Linked DNA regions of Homo sapiens: all the other regions are linked to region 3. Evidence: promoter capture Hi-C in 16 types of primary human blood cells and fetal thymus (Javierre and others, 2016). All regions are on one chromosome and are shown on one strand. The core of a region is centred on a gene start or on the middle of the fragment in contact, and the rest is flanking DNA. Distances in the headings are between cores, read along the strand shown. Region 1 overlaps ZC3HAV1 (zinc finger CCCH-type containing, antiviral 1). Region 2 overlaps CREB3L2 (cAMP responsive element binding protein 3 like 2). Region 3 holds the start of TRIM24 (tripartite motif containing 24). Region 4 overlaps CREB3L2 (cAMP responsive element binding protein 3 like 2). Region 5 has its middle 2.5 kb from the start of ZC3HAV1L.

The links. Contacts are between HindIII fragments. The CHiCAGO score rates a contact against its expected background, and 5 or more counts as called.
Region 1: a contact is called between a fragment that was not itself captured here and the fragment with the promoter of TRIM24 in region 3, in 2 of 17 cell types (total CD4 T cells and naive CD4 T cells). The highest score is 6.1, in total CD4 T cells.
Region 2: a fragment that was not itself captured here is called in contact with the fragment with the promoter of TRIM24 in region 3 in 2 of 17 cell types (naive B cells and total B cells); the score reaches 6.2 in naive B cells.
Region 4: a contact is called between a fragment that was not itself captured here and the fragment with the promoter of TRIM24 in region 3, in 1 of 17 cell types (total B cells). The highest score is 7.6, in total B cells.
Region 5: a contact is called between a fragment that was not itself captured here and the fragment with the promoter of TRIM24 in region 3, in 1 of 17 cell types (fetal thymus). The highest score is 5.4, in fetal thymus.

Annotation. Positions count from the first base shown.
Region 1 is chr7:139,070,738-139,073,437 of GRCh38, forward strand. The region is part of intron 7 of ZC3HAV1 (zinc finger CCCH-type containing, antiviral 1); the gene reads right to left. Among named protein-coding and RNA genes, the nearest start is that of MIR10399, 28 kb to the left of the region's middle. The HindIII fragment of the contact is 5,327 bases long and covers 1-2,700 here.
Region 2 is chr7:137,922,526-137,925,225 of GRCh38, forward strand. The region is part of intron 2 of CREB3L2 (cAMP responsive element binding protein 3 like 2); the gene reads right to left. Among named protein-coding and RNA genes, the nearest start is that of CREB3L2-AS1, 29 kb to the right of the region's middle. The HindIII fragment of the contact is 1,156 bases long and covers 860-2,015 here.
Region 3 is chr7:138,458,861-138,461,560 of GRCh38, forward strand. TRIM24 (tripartite motif containing 24) reads left to right here and starts at 1,399. Exons shown (of 19, transcript NM_015905.3): 1 at 1,399-2,052. The coding sequence starts at 1,689. RefSeq lists enhancers at 1-364, 768-1,550 and silencers at 1,061-1,450, 1,511-1,760, 1,791-2,270. The HindIII fragment of the contact is 2,319 bases long and covers 112-2,430 here.
Region 4 is chr7:137,938,966-137,941,665 of GRCh38, forward strand. The region is part of intron 1 of CREB3L2 (cAMP responsive element binding protein 3 like 2); the gene reads right to left. Among named protein-coding and RNA genes, the nearest start is that of CREB3L2-AS1, 13 kb to the right of the region's middle. The HindIII fragment of the contact is 270 bases long and covers 1,201-1,470 here.
Region 5 is chr7:139,037,192-139,039,891 of GRCh38, forward strand. No RefSeq gene overlaps it. Among named protein-coding and RNA genes, the nearest start is that of ZC3HAV1L, 2.5 kb to the left of the region's middle. The HindIII fragment of the contact is 733 bases long and covers 1,043-1,775 here.

The DNA.
Region 1 (2,700 bases), core at 145-2,644, 610 kb after region 3:
TGGGAGGCAGAGGCAGGCAGATCACCTGAGGTCAGGAGTTCAAGACCAGCCTGGCCAACATGGTGAAACCCCGTCTCAACTAAAAATACAAAAAATTAGCCAGGCATGGTGGTGGATGCCTGTAATCCCAGCTACTGGGGAAGCTGAGGCAGGAGAATTGCTTGAACCTGGGAGGCAGAGGCTGCAGTGAGCCGAGATCACAACATTGCACTCTAGCCTGGGTAACAAGAGCAAAACTCTGTCTCAAAAAAAAAAAAGCTCAGGAAGTTTCTTGATGTTTTATTAGAGAACATGATTGAACTTGTGTAAATTTAAATTTAAATACAGTATCTTTCCCCCAAATAGTTCCTTTTGGTTTCTGAAACCTTTTTTTTTTTTTTTTGGAGTCTTACTCTGTCACCCAGGCTGGAGCGTAGTGGCACAGTCTCGGGTCACTGCAACCCCTACCTCCTTGGTTCAAGCAATTTTCCTGCCTCAGCCTCCCAAGTGGCTGGAATTACAGGTGCACGCCACCAAGCCCAGCTAATTTTCTGTGTGTATTTTTAATAGAGACACAGTTTCACCATGTTGGCCAGGCTGGTTTTGAACTCCTGACCTCAGGTGATCCACACGCCTTGGCCTCCCAAAGTGCTGGGATTACTGACATGAGCCACCACGCCCGGCCTCCTGGAACCTTGATGTAACTAGAATGCAAATGTTTGTTTGCCAACCCTTCCCCTTTATATCTTACTAAAAATTCCAATTATTTGACATAAAAACCATCAAGACCTATAGCTTATTTTTATTTTAACCAAGGCTAATTAATTTGGGTTTATAATTTTATTTCCACAGGCGCCTGACAGAATCGCTTATTTGACATCATCCTTGGCTTGAGCATACAAAGAATCTGTGCAAAGTTTAATATCATAGGTGTTTTCACACACACGGGAGTTTCAGCAGAACTCTGTTCCACAGAGATGCTACATGGGCCACCACAGGAGAGAGAAGAGCAACAAGGAGGGGTCCAGGAGACAGCTCTGAGCCCATATCCTATTCCACCAGGGCAGCCCTGCTCTACTCTAGTTGGCTCGTTTAGAGTCTTTGAAAGATGGTTTGATAAAATGTATCTGCTGCTAAGACAGTTTGGAAACCAATATGCTGCTGAATTCATGGTAGGGCTGTTTGTGGTTGAGGACCTCACCACAGCACACAGGGTTCCCGCCATGTGGCCCACTATAGGAGGTGTTTTTCTCAGGCCTCACTAACATAACAGAGTAGTGCCTCTCCCAAGTATTTTGTTTGCTTTGGCAGTTAGGCAGCTCAGAGCCAAATGTATAGCCCACTGACTCGTAATTATTAGTTCCGTGCAAAAGTAATCAGTTTTTGCCATTAAAAGTAATTACCACCAACCCAAAAGTAATTTTACACCAACCTAAATATGTAGAACCTTACGCTGCCATTCCTTTGTCCCTGCATTATCTTTTTTTTTTTGGAATCTCACTTTTGTCACCCAGACTGGAGTGCAGTGGTGCAATCTCGGCTCACTGCAACCTCTGCCTGCAGGTTCAAGCGATTCTCCTGCCTCAGACTCCTGAGTAGCTGGGATTACAAGCACGCGCCACCACACCCAGCTAATTTTTTGTATTTTTAGTAGAGACAGGGTTTCACCATGTTGGCCGGGCTGGTCTCGAACTCCTGACTTCAGGTGATCCACCCCACCTCGGCCTCCCAAAGTGCTGGGATTACAGGAGTGAGCCACCGCACCCAGCCCATGCATTATTTTTGGCTTCATTTTAATCTCTTGCTTTCATTTTCTGTTTCTCATCACCCTGATTCCATTACCTGCTTAAGGTCTGTTTTCTCTCTCTCTTTAATCCTATGAGTTAAAGGGAGGAAGGGACACTGAGACAGAAGGACAGAGGCTCTGCTCACCTAAACTTCCCTCCCTATTACTATGCCCCCACTATGGGTCAGCCTAGGATCTTCTAGTTCCAGTCCTTTAAGTCCATCTAAATCCAGACTCTGAATGAATAGTAGTGACTATCTGTACCAGATGTGGTTTCACTGCTTGAGTGAATTAACACATTCCCTGGTCTAATTAACCATGCCATCATCCATACAGTCCTTTAAGTTCTCACTCTCACCCTCTTTTCCAGCTCAAAGCAGTAGTCTCTGTACATTTTATGTGTTTATACATAGAAAGCTATCTCAAGGTTCCACCCTCCCCTCTCATGGTGAGGAAAGAGGGAAGTGCAGCTGACATGTCTCAAGCGGTTCCTTAAAAATAATTAATATATGGCCGGGCGCAGTGGCTCACGTCTGTAATCTCAACACTTTGGGAGGCCGAGGTGGGCGGATAACCTGAGGTCAGGAGTTCACGACTAGCCTGTCCAACATGTTGAAACCCCATGTCTACTAAAAATACAAAAATTAGCTGGGTGTGGTGGTGGTGCATGCCTGTAATCCCAGCTACTCGGGAGGCTGAGGCAGGAAGATCGCTTGAACCCAGGAGATGGAGGTTGCAGTGAGCCAAGATAACGCCATTGCACTCCAGCATGGGTGATAAGAGTGAAACTCCATCTCAAAAATAAATAAATAAATAAAAATAAAAATTAATATATACTTTAATGTATGACTGCAATTGGAGTACATGTTTGCTGAAAAAAAATTGAATATAGCTGTGTACAAAGTAAAAAAATACCACTTCCTCTACCACACTCC
Region 2 (2,700 bases), core at 188-2,687, 540 kb before region 3:
TGAACATAGAGAGAATGGGCATTTATTCTTAAAAAGGGAAATCAGATGACGTACTACCACTTACATGAGAAAAACACATACGCAGTTGGTCCTTGAACAACACGGGTTTTGAACCATGCGGGTCCACTCACAAGCAGATTTTTTTCAAATAAACGTGGATTGAAAATACAGTATTCATAGGATGCAAAACCCAAGCACAGGGAGGGCGGACCGTACATCCATTTACTATTTATGTAACATATCTAAAGTGAAAAGAAAATTTTATAAATTAAATAAATATGCCTCATCTAAATCCTTTAGCATTTCATTTGTTTGCCCTTTGAGAATTTTCAAAGGAGTTGGCAAATCTTGAACAATTTTTTTATGTAAAAATCTCTTAAAGGAAAAATATAATGGCTAGGCTCTGGAAGCTGGGGAAAGGGGCAAGAATTCAGTTAAATGTGTCAGAATCATATTAAACTACAGCCCACTACATGCTCCAATGGAAGTTACAGGCCTATCTCCCCCTGGCCCGTTCCTGAGTATCTTAACCCTGAAATAACTTTCAGTATTGAATGGCATGAAGAGGTGGTGATAGTAGTAGAAACAGAAAATATTTACTACATCCTTTTTTCTTCAATGGAGAAGTTATGACTCTCATGTATGAATATCCAAAGTAACTGTAATCGCTGGATTAATGTGAACATTGCTTTCTTATACTAATCTAGCACTGCAATGGCTACGCAGAGAAGTCATTATTTTACTTTTTTCAAAAAATAAAAAGGGGAAACATCACTATTGTTTTTATCTGTTTGGAAAAAAGTAAAAGGTAACACCAAAAAAGCGGAGGAATAGCAAAATAGCGTGTATTACAAACCCAAGCTTCAGATGGAAGAGGTCAACTGTTCCTCTGCCTGTCCTCCCCAATCACTGTCAGGTTCTCTCTTTGGCCGTGCATGACAGAGGACCCAGTGACTCAGTAGATACACATACTTTTCTCTTCTACCCCTGAGTCTGGCTACTCTACGATGATTCAGAGTGATGTTCTTGTCATCAGCTCACGCTATATGTGATGAAGACACCGTTATGCACCTCATTTCTGTGATTTTCAAGTCTCACTTCTATGGACCATGTCAACATCAAGATCTCTTCAACACTGCAAAGCAAAAACCTAAGTCATCTCTGACTCATCTCTGCCCCTTCCTCAGCATATTCGATCCTGTGCTTTTCCTGCTGCAGGTTTCATCAAATCATTTCAAAACCCATTTTTTCTTTGCCATCATGTTATATACCTTTCCACTTCTCCCTGGATAACTATATCAGTGCACACCTTCCCTGTTCTCGCATGGCAGCCATAAGATCTTCTGTGTTTCATCTAAGCTCCAAAAAATGTGATCCTATGTTTCTCAGTCCCTGCTTCCCATCAGGCAGAGATAAAACCCTAGTCCTTGCCCTTCTCCAGCCTGTCCCACTTACCCCATGTGACTTTGCTCCAGCAATATCCGCTCACCTTTACCTCACAGACTACTGTGTTCATTCCCACCTGAGAACACAGCTCCATAAATTTAAGGTATCTGTAGTGAACCAGCCTACCCAGCCATCCCTTGCCACTGAAAGCCCTACTAAATTCATCAGGAGGAAGATGATTCTTATCCATGTTCCTGGCCCACCCTGTGTAGACCTGGGACAGCCATAGTCACGGTCCTTTGTTCCACCCTTGACTACATTTGTGATGCAAAGGTAGTATTAGACCACTTCTGTATTAGCCTATTTTATGCTAAGGTCTGTTGATAGTCTATATAATCTTTAGCTCTGTTCTTGTATCATCTTAGAGGATAGGGGCCATGTCTGGTTCTCTCTGAACAGCCCTCATCCAGCACTAGTTTCTTCTTTAGGAAGAACACCAAAATTAAAGGACAATGCAAATGCATACCTAGCATCCCAACTGAATTACACAAAGGAACATGACTGAAATATAGTAACTCATAAAGACAACCTCCATGTGGTGAGGTACAAGACTTGGTCATTCAAATACAAGCTTTTGTTTCTCAAAGCATAAAAGTATCATAAATATTTTGCTGGGATGCTTCTGCGTTTCTCTCTTAACCTCATGACATGTTTTTTTTCTTCTTCCTTCTTCCTTTTTTTTTGGTGTTTTCTTGTTGTTGTTGCCTTTTTTGTAGAACAGAAAACCTTGCTTAGCATCTGGTTCACAGCCTTAATCACAGGGAGAAATGGCTGAGCTGGATGCAGGATGTCTTTCTGGGGGTTTTGAAGGCTGCACCTACATTTCTAGGGTTGGCTCCTGTGGTGGCTGGGCCACATGAAGTTCCTTAGCTCTAGTGTTTCAGAAGTCTACAAAGTCCCCCTGAGACAGATGATTCCTGTGGAATCTTAGAACAGTTATTTTTAACTTTTTTTGGTCACAAACTCTTTTGAGAATCTAAGAAATGATATAATAACTCTCAAAAAATTAACAAATGTAGATAGCCCACATTTTTGTATACAGTTTTAGGGGTCCACAGTTCATCTGAAGTCTGTGATAGAATGATAGGATAAGAACATCTGTGTGTGCCCTTTTCAGTTGTCCTGGGGTTCAGGTGGAGGATGGAGGGAGGAAGGGAAAGTTAGGAGGAAAAGGGCAAAGGAGGAAGAGGGAAAGAGAAGAGTTCTAGTGGGAAGGAGAAGGAGAGAGGGGAAGCAGGAGGCAGAGGGAGAAAA
Region 3 (2,700 bases), core at 149-2,648:
ACGGAGGTGGCCCAAGCACCTGTTTTTCACTAAGCTTCTCAAGTTATTCTTATGCAAACTAAGGTTTAAGAGCTACTTCCATGCAAAAAAACAAACAAACAAAAAATCCCAAGCTTAAACAGGAACCAATGGGTGGGGGAGGCGGGAAGAGCTGTTGAATGTCTTGTGATTAAGTAAAAGAACCTCTCACTTGAGGCCTACGGAGGTTGTGTTTAAGGGCAAGGTCTTGAAGGAAGGCTACGTTGCCTAGCCCTCCCCCATTGCCATCCCATATAGTCCTCCAGGAAAACTGTGATTTTAGCAAAGCCTTTCATGACCCACTCCATCTTTCTCTAAAGTCCAGTACCGCTTCATTAGTATTGACAAAAAAAAAAAAAAAAGGTAAATACTTCTTAAAGTTACGTGTTACAAAATCTTGTTTCCTTCATTCCGTTTCTATTCTTCAAGTTCCTTAAAAGCTGCGCCATTTTTTGAGTGAAAAATGTGCGTAACTTCTGATATCAGCGTAGAGAGGTGAGGGAGGGAGGGAGGGAATAAAATAAGAGGGAGGGAGGAAATACAAAAGAATCCTGAAGTTATGAATTATTTGGGTAACAGTATTGAGGTTTATTTTTGCTTAATGATGCTATATTTATGCAATAAAAACATTTGTCAATCTGTATTAATTCCTGGGAAAACGAACCACTTTTAGTCACTTAAAAAGCAAATCACTGACTTTAAAAATTAATTTCACCTTTTTCATTGGGGAAACCCTTTAAAAATTTCCAACTTGCACGAGAACTTCCCCCCCTTATTCTTCATACTCATTCATTCTAGAGATGAGTAAAATTAGGTTGCAATATCCCTGCTGCCTCCAGAGTACCTCTTTCACACAGTATTTTAAAAAATTATTTCCTTGTTTGCTCTTCAGTACCTCCACTCCTTCCTCCTGTGACCCTCCGACCATATTTACTCCTCCTACAAGACCAGGTCTCCAGTAATGAAATCAGTTTTCCAAGCAGTTACTTAATTAACGGCATTGAGTAGACAAGTGAGGTCCCGCCCCCTAGGAGGAGCTAACACCGCGGACCGAATCAGGCGGATGGTCGTTAACAAATGAACCCTTAATCTTTTCAGAGGAGGAAACATACACAAAGGCCCAATCAGAAGCCGCGATTTCAGGCGTCCGGAGGGGGCGGGGCTGGGCAAGCACCTCCCACTTCCCAACCTCCCGCCGCGGCCGACGGAGCCTCGCGGGCTCCAACAGGTCCCGCCCCCTCGCCAGGCGCGGCCGCTATTGGGCGGCGCGCTCCACACCGAAGCCTCAGTTGCTGGGAGAGGGAGGGCGGGGGCGGGGGCGGGGCCTGAGGTGGGCCAGGGGGATGAAGAGAAAGGCGGGGAGGCAAGGGCGGGCTGGGCGTATTCCACGAGCGCCTCGGCGGTTGGCGAAGCGGACGGGGTGCAGCCTCCCCGGTGCGAGGAACGGTCTCCGCTGACAGATACCCTCCTTCCGGCCGCGCCACTCGGGAGGCGGATCCCGTGGGCCTGAGGAGGCTTCCCCCGCCCGGTTTGCTTTCCCTCCCTCGCTGGCGCTGCCGCGAGTCCACCGAGCGGCCTCTGAGGAGCAGCCGCAGGAGGAGGAGGAGGTCGTCGGGGGCGGCGGGCGGAGACCGCGCTCTCGCTTCCCCGGCGGCGGCAAGGGCAGGACAATGGAGGTGGCGGTGGAGAAGGCGGTGGCGGCGGCGGCAGCGGCCTCGGCTGCGGCCTCCGGGGGGCCCTCGGCGGCGCCGAGCGGGGAGAACGAGGCCGAGAGTCGGCAGGGCCCGGACTCGGAGCGCGGCGGCGAGGCGGCCCGGCTCAACCTGTTGGACACTTGCGCCGTGTGCCACCAGAACATCCAGAGCCGGGCGCCCAAGCTGCTGCCCTGCCTGCACTCTTTCTGCCAGCGCTGCCTGCCCGCGCCCCAGCGCTACCTCATGCTGCCCGCGCCCATGCTGGGCTCGGCCGAGACCCCGCCACCCGTCCCTGCCCCCGGCTCGCCGGTCAGCGGCTCGTCGCCGTTCGCCACCCAAGGTGAGAACCGGCCGCGGCCGCTGGGGAGCCCGGGGAGAGGGCCAGGAGGGGGCGGGCGCCCTTGTGCGGCGCGACCCGCTGTCATGTCGCCGCCGCCCGGGGTGCGCGGCGGGGGAGGGGCGAGCAGGAGGGTCTGTGCTGGCGACGGTGACATGGAGGGCCCGCGCTCTGCGGCGTGTCGCGCTCGGCCAGCAACTTCCCCGGGCGCTGTGGACTTGACCGCGCCGCCGCCGCCGCCGCTGCTCCGCATTCTCAACAGCCGGGCGGCCCCTGCCACTCGCACTTTTGCAGACCTCTGTCGGAGTCTCCTGCAGCCGGAATCTCGGGTTCTTTGCCGGCTGCAGCCAGTTAACTGCTACCCGCCCGCTGCCTCCACAAAGCTTTGTCCAGGTCCATATGATCCTGATCATCTCGTCTATACTCACGTTATTTGAGCTGCAGGGGAGAAGGGAGGGATGAAGATGAAGTGATGGTGACTTTCTTTGATGATTGATTGCAGATCGGATGTCATTTATTTCTTATCTTGCATGTTTGGGGCTCTTTACCTTAATGAGTTCCCAGTTCTCTTCCCTCTCCTCTGCTGGGGACAAAGGAACCAAGAGACGTTGTTTTGTTGTGTGTCTCTTTCAAAGGTTTTATTTTGAGACG
Region 4 (2,700 bases), core at 86-2,585, 520 kb before region 3:
CAAGATTCAGAATTAGCTAGCACATAAAAATTCAATCTGCCTACTTCTTGGCTTATTTACACATATAGCTGCAAATACCCCCAAAATGCACTTCTTCATTCTTTCTGAACCCAAATTAGCCTCTAGCCTAGTAGGGCCTGTCCTTCCATGGCCCAAGAGTATCCAACAAGTACCAACAGGAATAAAAATAATGCGAAGAAAATTTAATAATAATAGCACCTTCCATATTCAATGCATAGTATTTACATATGACAAAACACTTGCACACCATGACTGTATCTGATCCTCACAAGACGGAGAATTATCCCGAGGGTAGAGACAGTGGGGCAGCCTGGAGTAGGGCAGGACCCCTTCCCAGGCACGTTCGGCATAGTCCCTGCTGCCTCTCAATCACTAACACAGAGGACTTGGAGCTCAGATTTCTAATTGTTCCCCAAAAATGCTTTTTGAATTGTAACTTGGGCCTGAGAGAAGGGCAATCTCCTCATGTCAATGAAGGAAATCCTCAGGATCCTTTTAGAGCAGACAGAGCTGTTCCAGAAATACCCGTATCAGGTAGAGAAGTCCTCTGATATGCTTCAAGAAACTCAAACCATCCCCGAGTCCTCTTGCCCCTTCCTTCTGCCACAACAGACAGCTGAATCTCACCAACAAGTGAAAGACCATCAAAGCCATGATCAAGTCAACCGTTCAAGGCTGAGGCAGTACAGAACCTGTGATTCTGTTCTTGTCATCCATAGTGGGGAAGCCACAGAGACTGGGATGCTGAAAGCAGCTGCCATCAGGACCACCAATTCTTCCCTCTCCCTTTTCTCCACTTCTATCCCCGAGTCTAGACTCTACCCCCGCAATCTTGGATGGGAGTGCTGGAGGCCCAGCGGGGCTTTTTGCCTGATCTATCCCACAAGCCAAGGCCAAAAAATGTTTGCTTTTAACCCTCCCACACTTAAGAGCCTCCTACATAACTCAGCCTATGTCCAAATTCCCCACAGTGAGAGTTAAAGTAGATTTAAATTTCTTACTACCCAGTTAAATTCTCTAGATACTCTTCCTAATTGGTGTTGTTGATATCCCTCCTTCTGTCCCTTATCCTTCAATTTGCAGTTTTCAACCCTTTTACATGCTCATTATATAAGGAAATTTGGAGGGTTTTTTGGTCAGACTGCTGTAATGAGGTCTCTTGCCCTCTCTGCAGTCATAAGCTTCTCCTCTCTGGTATCTTCCACTCTCTTAAACAGAAGGCATCCCCATTCCCTCTCCCACAGTATACACTCTCCATCTCCATTTCAGTCTTTACCTCACCAGGGGACACCCAGGACATTCCCTCATATCTTTCAGTGAAGGCACAAGCTAAGGTATTTACTATTCCTACACTCTTGCATCCTACCCTAAAAGAATACAATCTGGTACTCTGCCATTCATTCCAGAAAAATTTTGGATTACAGCAGGCTCCAAATCACAGACTAGTGAAGCTTGAGGAAACACTGGATATCATCTGGCCTGACCTGGTCACTCTAATTTGAGAAAACTGAGGTCCAAAATGGCACATGAAATCAAAGAGTTGAGAACTGAAATCTACACTACAGACTCTCTAACAAGAGAAACGGTGACCAGACATAAAGATCACCAAATGGGTGACTGAAAAGTGTTCCACAGACGACCCCCACAGAATTCTCTGAACAGAACGTGCATGTTGCAATGGAACAATTCTGCCTCCAAGTCAAGATCTAATGCCAAAAACATCAGGTATGAAACACTAACGGGCGATGAAGTTTGTGGGAAAAAATGAACGGCATGCATGCTTCCTAGAAACCTATGCTTTATTTATGAGCCAAATATGTCTTAAGCATTACTGAGATAATCTCATCCCTAGAGGGCCACACTGGGGAAAAGGGAAAGTGCTTGAGAGGTACAAAGTACTGTTTGTGTTGTTTAAATGCTCAGGCATGACTCTGCCAGGAGGTACCCCTCCACCCCAAGATAAGAGCTAAGGGAATCCCGCAGGTCAGCAAATGGGAGACCAGGAAGGTTCTGGCTTCTAGCCACTTTGGCTCCTGCTCTGTGAGACCTCACATGTATGCCCCACCTCTCTGGAATGACATGTGTTGAGACATACCAGGGGATCTTAGCCTTTGAAACCCTTGTGTTATGCACCGGACTCATGGGACAGAAGGCATATAGTCTACATCAGCTCTGTAGATCCTAGCAGCAACCTTGGGTCAAATCACTTGTTCTCTCCACACCACTAGAAAATGAGAAATCCAATCTGCCTTTCAAAACTGTAGTGAAGATAAAAATGAATTCATCGATACAAGTCTAATCCAGATACAAGATGGTGCTATGGTAAATGAAAACTGGCTAAGAAAACCATGTGCAGGCTATGAACACGGAAGTGACTTCCCAGACATCCACAGAGTTCTTATCTCCATCGTGGCCAGCCAGTTAGCAACCGCAGTTATTGGGAGCGCAGTAGCCATTGGCTGTCCGCTCCTGCATGTTCCTTCCTCTCATAAACCTCAACCAGCTGAGGCAATGAACCCTCTTCTATCTCTAAGTGCTACCAGAATCCAAGAGCTTTGAGGCCTGCTCAGGACAGACTATCTTGGAGCAGTGGGGAGTAAAGGGCCCCGGTTGGCTTTCTGTTATCCCACATTGCTAGCCCCAGCCAGGTTATTCATTCCAATCACATTTCTAGAAACA
Region 5 (2,700 bases), core at 159-2,658, 580 kb after region 3:
GAGGATTAAATGCATTAATGTCATGTAATGTAAAGAAGCTAGAGAGGAAGACAACTGGCCAGATGCCAGAAGACCTTCTCTGCCATGCTGTGAAATTTGGACTTATATCCCGAGAACTTTGGGAAGTCACTAAAGGATTTTCATCTGGGAAGTGTGGATGTCTCCTGAGTGCCACTCAAGGTGTGTCATTCAGCTCTGAGCTTTAATGTCTTCTCTTCAGCAAAACCTTTCCTGACCTCTCAAATCTAAAGTAGCTCCCCAGTCTGCATGGAACTTACCACTGATATTTTTCTTCTTTATTGTGTATTTATATATTTAGCTATAGAATTCAGGCTCATGAAAGCAGGAACCTTGTTTTGTTCATTGCTGTATCCCTACCACCTAAAATAGTACCTGGCCATATTGTAGGATAGGTGTTTTAGAAAGACCCCTGGCAGCAATGAGAAGAATGGATTTCTAGAAAAGCAAGACGAGGTGGGGAATAACAGAAAATAAACAGGATTTGAGGGACTATAACCCCAGTGTTATTTATGTTGAGAGTTTGCAGTGGACAACCCAAGGTAAGACGCTCAACAGGCAGGTGTATTCTGTATACAGGTCTAGACCTTGAGGGACATGAGAAGGGAAGGGATGTAGATTTGCGTGACATCAGAGCATTAGGTAACTGAGAGTTGATAAGATCACCTGGCAAAAATGAAGAGTGTGAAAAGGTGGGGGACGGGGGGAAAGAAGCTTGGCGAATACCCACATTAAATAAGCAAGTGGGGGAAGAGAAAAATAGGCAGTAGCCTACGTCCCCTTGGCACTCAGCATTTGTTCCTGAACTCTCTGCCTAAGCTTTTTCCAACAGAAGGAGGAAGCAGCCAGCAGGAAAGGCAGGCTGGAATTACCAAGGAGCCAACACCTCCAGGAAGAGCCTTCATCCAGGGATGTTGGGGAATTGGTGGTTTGAGGATGCACTCTCAACCCTAAAATTGGCATGAGGATTATTTTAAACTAAAGACATGTAAGATTCAATAGAGGCAAAAAGAAGCCTTCTTGAAGCTTCCTTTATTTCAGTAAAAGCAGAATCTTCTGGGAGTGAGGTTGCCATTCATCCCCTCTCCAGGGGTTTATGGACATGAAATAGAAAACCACGTGCACCTGCATAAACAACTTCCCTATGAACACAAACTTCCTTATCTCCTGTTTGTTCCCTAGAAACCCCTTTGTTCTTCCCATAGGAGCCTTTTTGCCCCCCTCTCTCCCCTATTAAGTTAGGTAAATAAATCATCATCACTTCTTTTGTGCAGTGCCATATGCATATATGTTTTTTCTCTTGTCAGTTAAATTTGCAGCCCCTCAGAACTGAACATAAGAGAGTGCAGGAAAAGTTTTTCCTCCCCAACAATGGATCAAACAGCCCAACTCATTCCTCGTGTGGAACCACTTGGAGGTGTACATTCCATGGTCTCCCAATGTTTCCTCAATGGAACTGAACCCCAGTTGCCCACAGCCACACCTGCTCATTAGCACTCCCCATACAGTCTTCCTTCCTTTCCTTGCCCTACCTCCCCATTCCCCTGCCAGTGTTTCTTAGGATCACCTCCCAAGTAAACTGTGTGCATTCAATCCTTGTCAGATTGCTCCTGAGAGAACATAGCCTAACATATAAACTGATAAGGAGAGGTTAGAGAAAAATGAGAGTCATTCATGGACACGCAGAGGAGAGAGTTTCAAGGAGAAAGTGATCAGCATGGTGAGATACTACAGGGAGGAGCTTTCCTACAAGGGAAAGCTTGTAGACAGTGATAACCTAGGCAGGTTTATTTCAGAGGAATAATGAGAAAAGGTAGATTTCTGTAGGTTAAAAAAAGAAGAATAGAAAAACCGAGGACTTTACTTCTAAAAGTAAGTAAGGTAATGATAATAAGAGGAAGACACAAGACTGAGAAAGGTATTTTATTATAGGAGAGACAAGCATAGTTACATGCTGAGTAGAAAGAGCCAGTAAGACCGGGCGCGGTGGCTCACGCCTGTAATCCCAGCACTTTGGGAGGCCGAGGCGGGCAGACCACGAGGTCAGGAGTTCGAGACCATCCTGGCTAACATGGTGAAACCCCATCTCTACTAAAAGTACAAAAAATTAGCCAGGCGTGGTGGCGGGCGCCTGTAGTCCCAGCTACCCGGGAGGCAGAGACAGGAGAATGGAGTGAACCCAGGAGGCGGAGCTTGCAGTGAGCCAAGATCGTGCCACTGTACTCCAGCCTGGAGAACAGAGTGAAACTCCGTCTCAAAAACAAAACAAAGAGAAAAGAAAGAGCTAGTAAGAATGGAAAGTTGAAAATAAAGGAGGCCAGGTGCGGTGACTCATGCCTGCAGTCCCAGCATTTTGGGAGGCTGAGGCAGGAGAATCACTTGAGTCCAGGAGTTTGAGATCAGCCTGGGCAACATGGTAGAACCCTGTCTCTACTAAAAATGCAAAAATTAGCTAGGCATGGTGGCATGTGCCTGTAGTCTCAGCTACTCAGGAGGCTGAGGTGGGAGGATTGCTTGAGTCTAAGAGGTCAGAGGCTGCAGTGAGCCAAGATCGTGCTACTGCACTCCAGCCTGGGCGACAGAAAAAGGTAGGAAGGAAGGGAAAGGAAAGAAAAGGAAGGAGAGAGAGAAGAAAAAAAGAAAGAATATAAAGGAAAGGGGAATTGTAATCAGCGGGGGATG